Linked DNA regions of Homo sapiens: regions 1 and 2 are each linked to region 3. Evidence: promoter capture Hi-C in 16 types of primary human blood cells and fetal thymus (Javierre and others, 2016). All regions are on one chromosome and are shown on one strand. The core of a region is centred on a gene start or on the middle of the fragment in contact, and the rest is flanking DNA. Distances in the headings are between cores, read along the strand shown.

Region 1 (3,056 bases), core at 225-2,724, 290 kb after region 3:
TTTGTCCCCACAGGTTGCCAGAACCTGATGTTTTTGCTGTTCGTGGTGTTGGATGGCTGCAAAGGGGTGACGGCGGTTCAAGCAGGCTTCTGACTTGTCCGTCGTATCCCAAAACCGGCGTTTTTTCCACACACACTGGCTGAAGCTTCCTACCTGTGGGCTTGGGAGCTTGCTAGTCACAGAATAAGGAAATCCACAGGTGTTAAAGAATCCGTCCATTCCAAAAGCGTGGATGGTTTTTTTTTAATCATCATGTTTTCTAGAAATTGCTCGGTTTTTATTTCTTTCCTCCCCTCTAACCCTCTTCTTATCCGCATTTTCCCATCTTCTCTTTTCCAGAAGACGAGAACCCTGTGGAGAGGGAGACTCCAAGTTTCCCTTCAGTTCACAGGAAGAGAGTTGCCGTGCAGGAGCCTAATTGTAAATTTGAAAAAATTAAAAACTGCTTATGCTCTGTCAATTACCAAAACGAGGAAGGACTGTATCTGTGAAATACGTATATATTTTTTGAGATGGAGCCCCGCTCTGTCGCCCAGGCTGGAGTGTAGTGGCGCGATCTCGGCTCACTGCAACCTCTGCCTCCCAGGTTCAAGTGATTCTCCTGCCTCAGCCTCCCAAGTAGCTGGGACTATAGGCACAGGCCACCACGCCCAGCTAATTTTTGTATTTTTAGTAGAGATGGGATTTCGCCATGTTGGCCAGGCTGGTCTCGAACTCCTGACCTCAAGTGATCCGCCCACCTCAGCCTCCCAAAATGCTGGGATTACAGGCATGAACTGCTGTACCCGGCCTGGTTGTTGCATTTTAATGTACTGAGCCAAGCACCAGGCTCCAGGGACACTGCTACTAGGTGGCCTGTCCTTGGCTCTGATGCAGGCGCTTCCAGGAAGAATGGGCTGCAGCTCTGTGCAGCCTGCCTGTGCTGGGCCAATGTCAGCTCCCCTTGCTCGAACAGGATTGGCCAGAACACGCCCTGTGCCTGCGAGCAGCCTTGAATGCCACTGGGGATTTGAGGTTTAGGCGTCCCGTTCCTTGAGCAGGAACCTCTGCAGAAAGGCAATTAGAAGAACAAAGTGCCCTCTCCCTGACGGTCTGTCTCCCTCACACCAAAAAGGAAGGTGAAGCTTCCTTTTTAAGGAGACCCCTTTTTAAGAACCACGGGGTAGCTGTGGTGGTTCACGTCTATAATCCCAGTGCTTTAGGAGACCACAGTGGGAGGATCACTTGAGCCCAGGAGTTTGGAACCAGCCTTGGCAACAGGGGTTGGAGGCTGCAGTGAGCTATGATCATGCCACTGCACTCCACCCTGGGCAACATAGTGAGACCCCATCTCTACAAATGATATAAAAGGCACCTGGGGGTGGTGGTGCGTGCCTGTGGTCCCAGCTATTCAGAAGCCTGAGGCAGGAGGATCGCTTGAATCCAGGAGTTCAAAGCTGCAGTGAACTGTGATTGTGCCATTGCACTCCAGCCTGGGCACCAGAGCGAGACCCTGTCTCTTAAAAAAAAAGAAGAAGAAGAAACATGTATGAGATAGAGCGCTGCAAATCTGGTTCCAACTTTCTCTGTGATTTTGCTGGAATTTGTTCAACACTGAGCTCACAGACAGCAGTGAACCAAAACTTGTTTTCTTTGGACTGCTTTGAGCAAAAATAGAAGAAAGGGGCTCATTTTTTTCCAGTGATTTTTTATTTTTCATCAATAGTGCAGATCCAAAGTAAGTATTTATTCACTGGCCTGATTTCCCAATCTTTTAACTTAGAAGTATGATTGCCAGTTTCCTAGGTTTTTAAGAATACGCTGAAAACAAGCTGCCAAGCTTAGGAGCCGAGAACCATAGAAAGTTCTGTCCATGTGCTTGGATCAGATTTCCAGCACAAACTGTGATGTGTACATCGCTTAACTCGGAGTCTGACTTTTGTTAGCTGTTGTTGGATGAACAGGTGTGTGCAGCGGATGAGTAACATGATACAAAGAGAGGTTGTACTTCCGCTGGGAGGAGAATGGGCATTTGGGTTTTTGTTGTTGTTGTTGTTTAATTTCAGCCCAACTGTTTAGAAAGAAAATTCTTGCTGTCTTTACCACTTTGTGCTGCACAGGGAGGTGGGAAGGAGGATGTTAGACGTGCGTATTAACAAATGCTCTTATGGCTACATTTTTTGGTCCATGCAAAAAAAAAAAAAAAAAAGTTCGTCTTTTTTTTATCCAGTTATCAAACTTGTGTAAAAATAAGAAAGTATATCCTTAAATAGAATTGTGCCCTGGAAGGAACCCAGATGGCTCTCTTGAGATTAAAATAGTCATCCCAGCCGGGCACGGTGGCTCATGCCTGTAATCCCAGCACTTTGGGAAGCCAAGGCAGGAGGACTGCTTGAGGCCAGGAGTTTGAGACCAGCCTGGCCAACATGGTGAAACCCCCTCTTTACTAAAAATAACAAAAATTAGCTGGGAGTGGTGGTGGGTGCCTGTAATCCCAGTGACTCGGGAGGCTGAGGCAGGACAATCACTTGAACCCAAGAGGCGGAGGTTGCAGTGAGCCGAGATCACGCCATTGCACTCCAGCCTGGGCAACAAGAGCGCAACTCCGTCTCAAAAAAAAAAAAAAAAAAACTTAGGGACATCATTCTCAGTTTTTTTTAAAGGGTACTAGTTTTAGTTTTGATTTACCAATTTATGTTTCCGAGACGTTTTTTCAATGAAGTGAGTCACTTTTGAACTATTGTGAGGCACTCATTCTAATTTCATGGCTCTCAGTTTACAGGAACATAACATTTGATGCCAATGAAATTCATTAGAATTCTGCGCTATCCTGTGAACTGCGTGCCCATCTGTCTTGTATGTGTTTCCAGGGGTGGCTTACAATGGTCTTCGCCATGTACTGGATGGACGTGTACTTATTATGAATCCTCACACCCTGAGACCCAAGAGGATCCCTCGTAAAACAAGGCCATATCTGATTTGGATTAAAATCCCCACGGAGAACCTGATGTCACCCAGGAAAGTGCACGTCTCCTTGCGTGCTCTTGAGAAACGGTTGAGAAAACAGTCCTTCCAGC
Region 2 (3,106 bases), core at 160-2,659, 270 kb after region 3:
GGTCAAAACAGTTCCCCATATGATGTCATGAGACGTAGGATTAATGACCAGTCACTGAACATAGGTCTTTTATTTTGAAATCCTCTGCATACTGAGGAGGACGCTGGCCTTCAGAACCGTATCACTGGTAGGTGCTGAGGAATGGGATGGCGCAGACACAGAAACAGGAGTCAGGGAGGCCGGTAGACCTCTGGGGACAAGCCCAGTTCTCATCATTGTACTACAAAAAATGTAAAAACTTACAGGATGGCAGTGATAGGTGCTATATTTAAAATATTTGCCATTAGCGACATCCAGTAAGATCCCTATCTTTCATGTGTTGCACTAACTGAATAATTCTTGATTTGTTAAAAATAAGTCCCAGCCGGTCTTGGTGCTCACGCCTGTAATCCTACCACTTTTGGGAGGCTGAAGCGGGTGGATTGTCTGAGCTCAGGAGTTCAAGACAGCCTGGGCAACACGGTGAAACCCTGTCTCTACTAAAAATACAAAAAATTAGCCAGGCATGGCGGTGTGCACCTGTAGTCCCAGCTACTCAGGAGGCTGAGGCAGGAGAATTGGTTGACCCTGGGAGGCGGAGGTTGCAGTGAACCGAGATCGCGCCACTGCACTCCAGCCTGGGTGACAGAGCAAGACTCAGTCTCCAAAAATAAAAATAAAAAATAAGTCTCAAAATTGCCTATTACACATTTGCTACTGGTTTCAGGGTATTTTAAGCCTTTTCAACTAAATGTGTTGTTGGAAATACAGTAATACCTTGTATAACAGAATGTAAGCAGTGAACAATTTATTCAAATATTTCGTGATATCTTAAACCCATTAAGCTTCCATTCATGTAATAAATTTCTCCCAAATATTGGGCTTTTCCTATAACTGCTTATAAAAATGTTTCACTATTAGTGTGTATTGAAGAACCGCCTGTTTACAATTACAGAGGGTTTAGGTGCGCAGAATGTTTTAAAGTCACATGGGACATTTCTTCCTTGTCCTTGCAGGAGATCTAACATTCTGGCTCCCTGAGTTATTAAGAGAACCAGAGGGACCCCTGGCATTTCCGAAATGCCCCGTTGGAGTGGCATTGCTGTTGCCAAGGACCTCTGCTTGAATTCATTCAAAAGCACAAAATGATTCTATTTGCCGCAGTATTGTCAGTATCAGACGGAGTAGGCACGGGGTGTCTTTGGTTATTAGCAAAGCAACAGTCCAGCCATGGGCAGTGTGAGCATCCGTCCTCAGTTTACTTAAGAAAAGAATCACAATACAAAAGACATTTAAATTCCCTGCAAATTAAGATCAAAAAGGGAATTTAAAATAGGACTGTCATTCAGTACTTGAAAGGAAACTTTAATGAATAGATTAAGCAAAATAAAGCAGACTTGGATTTTTCTGAAGGTATGGCCATCTAGAACGATGGTCACGATGAGCTCTTTCTCGAGAGTATGAAATCCAGCAAACTGCTTTTTACCTTTTAAATCCATCACAGGTCCCTCATCGGGCATTCACCGTGGCCTTTAGTCATGGCTGCGGGGCTTTTCTACCTGGAGCTGGAGAGCCACAGTGATGGGGGACCCCTCTGCCGCCTTTGTGCCCAGAGTTCAAATAGCAGATCTGGGGTAGGGATGATGGTTGAAGTTCCACTCGGCCCAGAACTCCTCCATCCACTTGAGGCCTCAGAGCCCCTAATCCCATCACGGTTGCTAAGCCTCAGCAGGATAGAGAGGATGCGGGATGGTAAACAAAGACGTAAACTCAGCTTTACCAAGGGAACTGCCCCCAGCATTGGGAGACACAGATGTGAAGAAAGAGGTGGGAGCAGGTGGCTTTATGTGGATGTACAACCACGTCTAAAAAAGGAACATAGTTTGTTCAAGCTCTTCTCAGGTTGCCTTGTGGAATGCCTTCTTTGCTCTTTATGATAATATTTTTCTGCATTTTAATTTCAGTTCTGTATTAACTTCGCCCCTTGACGCAGTACAGAATTTCAGGTAAGCTTTTAATATTGCACTTCTGTCTGAATAAACGAGAGTGACTGTATTACCCTGCCCATTTCGAAGCTTCCTGAAAACAATGGGATCTTGAATAAAAGGAACAATACGTGCATTCTTAGAATAGAAAGTGGAAAATATCTCCTCGTTGAACTGTATCATAGTTATAATGTCTAATGGGGAAAATAAAATTAGTTTTATTATTTTAATAAGACATTACAGTCATGTAATTTTATGTAAGACTTTCGCATGCAACAAAGGAAATCTCGCAAATCAAAGAAAAAAGTTATTTTGTAAAATATTTTAAAATAACCGACTTGAAATCAGCCAGGCACGGTGGCTCACGCCTGTAATCCCAGCATTTTGGGAGGCCGAGGCGGGCGGATCACGAGGTCAGGAGATGGAGACCATCCTGGCTAACACGGTGAAACCCCGTCTCTACTAAACAAAATACAAAAAATTAGCTGGGCATGGTGGCGGGCGCCTGTAGTCCCAGCTACTCAGGAGGCTGAGGCGGGAGAATGGCGTGAACCCGGGAGGCGGAGCTTGCAGTGAGCCAAGATTGTGCCACTGCACTCCAGCCTGGGTGACAGAATGAGACTGTGTCTCAAAAAGTAATAAAATAACTGACTTGAAATCCAAAATACTAAATGTTTGACCCTTGCTTTACTATAAACAGCAGAATAAATTCTAAATAAATTGAAGAGTCGGAAATAAAAATTAAACTATATAAAATCTAGAAAAAGTAAAATTCAATAGTTTTCAAGCCTCTAAAACTGAGATAACTTTCCAGGCTTACAAATAATAAATAGAACCACAACGAAAAGATGGACAGATTTGAGAGGAAGGGAGAGAAAATCAAAGCACACAGAAAAGGACCGGGCTCGGTGACTCCCGCCTGTAATCCCAGCACTTTGGGAGGCCAAGGCAGGAAGATTACTTGAGGCCTGGAGTTCTAGACCAGCCTGGGCAACATAGCGAAATCCTGTTTTGGCAAAAAATTGTAAAAATTAGCCAGGTATGGTGGTATGCACCTGTAGTCCCAGCTACTCGGGAAGCTAAGGTGGGCTTGAGGCCGGGAATTTGAGGCTGCATTGAGCTGTGATGGTGTCCTTGCACCC
Region 3 (3,019 bases), core at 343-2,842:
CTGTAATCGTAGTGCTTTGGGAGGTCGAGACAGGAAGATTGCTTGAGCCCAGGAGTTGGAGACCAGCCCGAGTGACATAGGAAGACCATGTTTGCAAAAAACAAAAAAATTAGCCAGATGTGGTGCACACCTGTATTCCCAGCCCCTCGGAGGTTGAGGTGAGAGGGTGGCTTGAGCCCAGGAGTTCAAGGCTGCAGTGAGCTATGATCGTGTCACTACTCCAGCCAGGGTGACAGAGACCCTGTCTCTTAAAAAAGATTAAAAAAAAAAAAAAAGTCAAGTGCCTACCAGATGCCTAATTCTTTTTTTTTTTTTTTTTTTTTTTGAGACAGAGTCTCGCTCTGTTGCCCAGGCTAGAGTCAGTGGTGCAATCTTGGCTCATGGCAACCTTCGCCTCCTGGGATCAAGTGATTCTCCTGCCTCAGCCTCCTGAGGAGCTGGGATTATAGGCACCCGCCACCACACCCAGTAATTTTTGTATTTTTAGTGGAGATGGGGTTTCACCATGTTGGCCAGGCTGGTCTCAATCTCCTGACCTCAGGTGATCCACCCGCCTCGGCCTCCCAAAGTGCTGGGATTACAGGTGTGAGCCACTGTGCCTGGCCCTGATTTAGTTCCTTTCCTCCAAGGCTGGCTTCTACCTCTTCCCCACACAGTGACACTGTACCCCGACCAGACAAGCAAGTGTCTGCTTTCCCTTGGCTTCTTACAACTGGCTCTCTGGGCCATCTACAAAAAATTTTAAAAAATTAGTACAGCATGGTGGCACTACTGTCCTAGCTACTTGGGAGGCTGAGTTGGGAGGATTGATTGAGCCTGGGAGGTCGAGTGCAGTGAGTGATGATTGTGCCACTGCAGTCCAGCCTGGGTGACAGAGCGAGATCCTCTATCAAAAACAAATAAACAAAAAAGCACTTTGCAGAGGTGACTGAATGTTCTGGAACCCCTGGGCCATTGGAAATGGATATCTGTTGCTCCATCCTCCAGTTTACACCGTAGCCTCAGCTTGTGTCTCAGTGTGCCCCTCTCCCTCTGGTCTGTGCTCTCTCTCTTCCAGAGGCTGGGAAGGTTGTTCCAGGGCTGCAGCCTTGGACCTCAGAGGTCACATGTTGCGGGTTTGCCGTAGCTGACCACTCTCTAGCATGTGGATCAGTGGCTGTTAAATAGGATTTCTTTTGCGTGGCCTTACAACTTCCTCCTTCCAGTGCAGGCGTGTCAAGGTCCTTAACCTGCCGAGACTTCAGGTCAAGTTATTGCAAGTTCTGGGAAGACTCAGCTTCCCAGCTCCACCGCCTGAGCCCAAGGGATGCTCCATTTTATGCCTGTCACCCACGCCCTGTGACCCATGTCATGTGATCCCAGGGCTGCAGGGGTTCGGGGGAAGAGAATCCAGCCACGGCCCTGCCTTCTGGGGCCTGGCAGCTGGGACAGCAGTGGCGCAGCCTGAGCCTCTGCACAGCCTTCTGGGGTCCGGGCTTCTTCCCCATCACACCCTCCTAGTTGCCCTGGTGACTGTGTGACCCCTCTCCCCCCTCCACCGCCTGCTGCCACGGCCGGCCGTATAAATAGAGGCGAGGAGCAGCTGGGCTCTCTTGGCAGTCACCATGAGGGCGCTGGTCCTGCTCGGCTGCCTCCTGGCCTCGCTCCTGTTCTCAGGACAAGCAGGTAGGGCCCCTCCCAGCATGACCCAGCCCAGACTGGTCCCCCACGCTTCCTCCAAGGTTTTCTGTCTACCATGGGTTGGGTAGGGGGTCGGGGCTGATGGCAAACCCTGGCTCTTGGCTGGTGTCTTCTTACCCTTCTCTTTTCCCCGGGCCTGGGGCCTCAGAGAAAGAGCTGGGTGCTGGAGAATAGCAGCACAGTTGCGGGGCCCTCAGGAAGGCCAGAGGAAGTGGGAACGGCAAACAGAGCTGAGCTGTGAGCCAGGGTCAGAGAGGAGTCTGGCCAGTAGATGTGGGAAAGAGGGCCCTCAAAGTCGAGACGGGGGAGCCTCTGAGACGGACAAAATAGCACAGTCTGGGAGCTGGAGGTCGTTGAGGTGACCCTCCCACCTGGTGGGATATAAGGCGGAGGCCCCACTCGGGTAAGAGAACTGGGTTTGCGTGGACAGAAGGGGATACAGTGGGCAAAGGTGGGGACCGTTTTGGGAGCAGTGAGATAGAATTGGAATTGGTTTGGGATAAGATCGGAAATAGAGTTGGCGGTTGGGCTGGAAACAGCATTGGATGCAATTCAGAAGAGGAACGGGGCCCGTTCTGGAGTAGAGCCTCTGCTCGGGGTGGGGGCTTCCATCAGAAAAGGGGCTTGGCTCTGTGTGCTGAGGCTTCCCTTTGACATCTCAGCACTTTGGGTAGCAGAGGTGGTGGCTTGGGTTGCAGCATGGGGGTTATCTATAGGCTATGGAGGAGATGCCAGATTGTTTTGCCACCTCTCTTGTTCCTAAGGTTCCTGAGGCCAGGTTCCCCGAGGGAATGCTTTTAGGGAGGTGCTCCGGGGATCCCCCTAGGATCCGGACTGCCCACCGAGTCTTTTCATGACTCGGCAGTCTTCCCCCAAGCTGGGCTCTGAGCCTAGGTCCGTACCTGGGACTGGAGAGGCCCAGAGTCCAGCCTCTCAGGTCTTTGAGGTTGAATAGGGGGTTGCAGGGGCACAGTCCCTGCAGGGAGAGCAGGCAGTGGGTGGGAACAAAAGCTATTTCTCGGGGACTCAAGATGTAAGGTGGGGGGCTCCAGCCACTGCATGTGCTGCTGGGCCCTGCCCTTGTCTGTCCTTGAGTTAATTTGGGCTCTGCAGGGCTGCAGCGGCTTGAGTGCTGAGTATTCCAGGCGGCTGTCAGGCGGCTAAGTATGGAAACAGCCGCGTAATTGGATCCGGAGCCCCAAGCCGCTGCCACCCTCTCCCTTCGTGGCCGCTCCTGTGCTGCCCCCCAGCCCCAGCTGCTGGGCTGCTACACACTGGGCCCCAGGAATTTTTGGCCTTTTAGGGACATCCTTTATCTTTCCTCCCACCGAGGGAACTG

The links. The method cuts DNA at HindIII sites, captures the fragments that hold promoters and counts their contacts. A CHiCAGO score of 5 or more calls a contact.
Region 1: a contact is called between a fragment that was not itself captured here and the fragment with the promoter of SRL in region 3, in 1 of 17 cell types (M0 macrophages). The highest score is 5.6, in M0 macrophages.
Region 2: a contact is called between a fragment that was not itself captured here and the fragment with the promoter of SRL in region 3, in 5 of 17 cell types (M0 macrophages, endothelial precursors, M1 macrophages and 2 more). The highest score is 11.7, in M0 macrophages.

What each region holds. Positions count from the first base shown.
Region 1 is chr16:3,950,800-3,953,855 of GRCh38, reverse strand. It overlaps a transcript of ADCY9 not described here. Among named protein-coding and RNA genes, the nearest start is that of TRIDDENT, 1.9 kb to the right of the region's middle. The HindIII fragment of the contact is 695 bases long and covers 1,127-1,821 here.
Region 2 is chr16:3,973,548-3,976,653 of GRCh38, reverse strand. ADCY9 (adenylate cyclase 9) reads left to right here. Exons shown (of 11, transcript NM_001116.4): 10 at 1,944-1,985. Among named protein-coding and RNA genes, the nearest start is that of TRIDDENT, 25 kb to the right of the region's middle. The HindIII fragment of the contact is 1,166 bases long and covers 827-1,992 here.
Region 3 is chr16:4,240,653-4,243,671 of GRCh38, reverse strand. SRL (sarcalumenin) reads left to right here and starts at 1,592. Exons shown (of 6, transcript NM_001098814.2): 1 at 1,592-1,665. The coding sequence starts at 1,605. The HindIII fragment of the contact is 10,843 bases long and covers 1-3,019 here.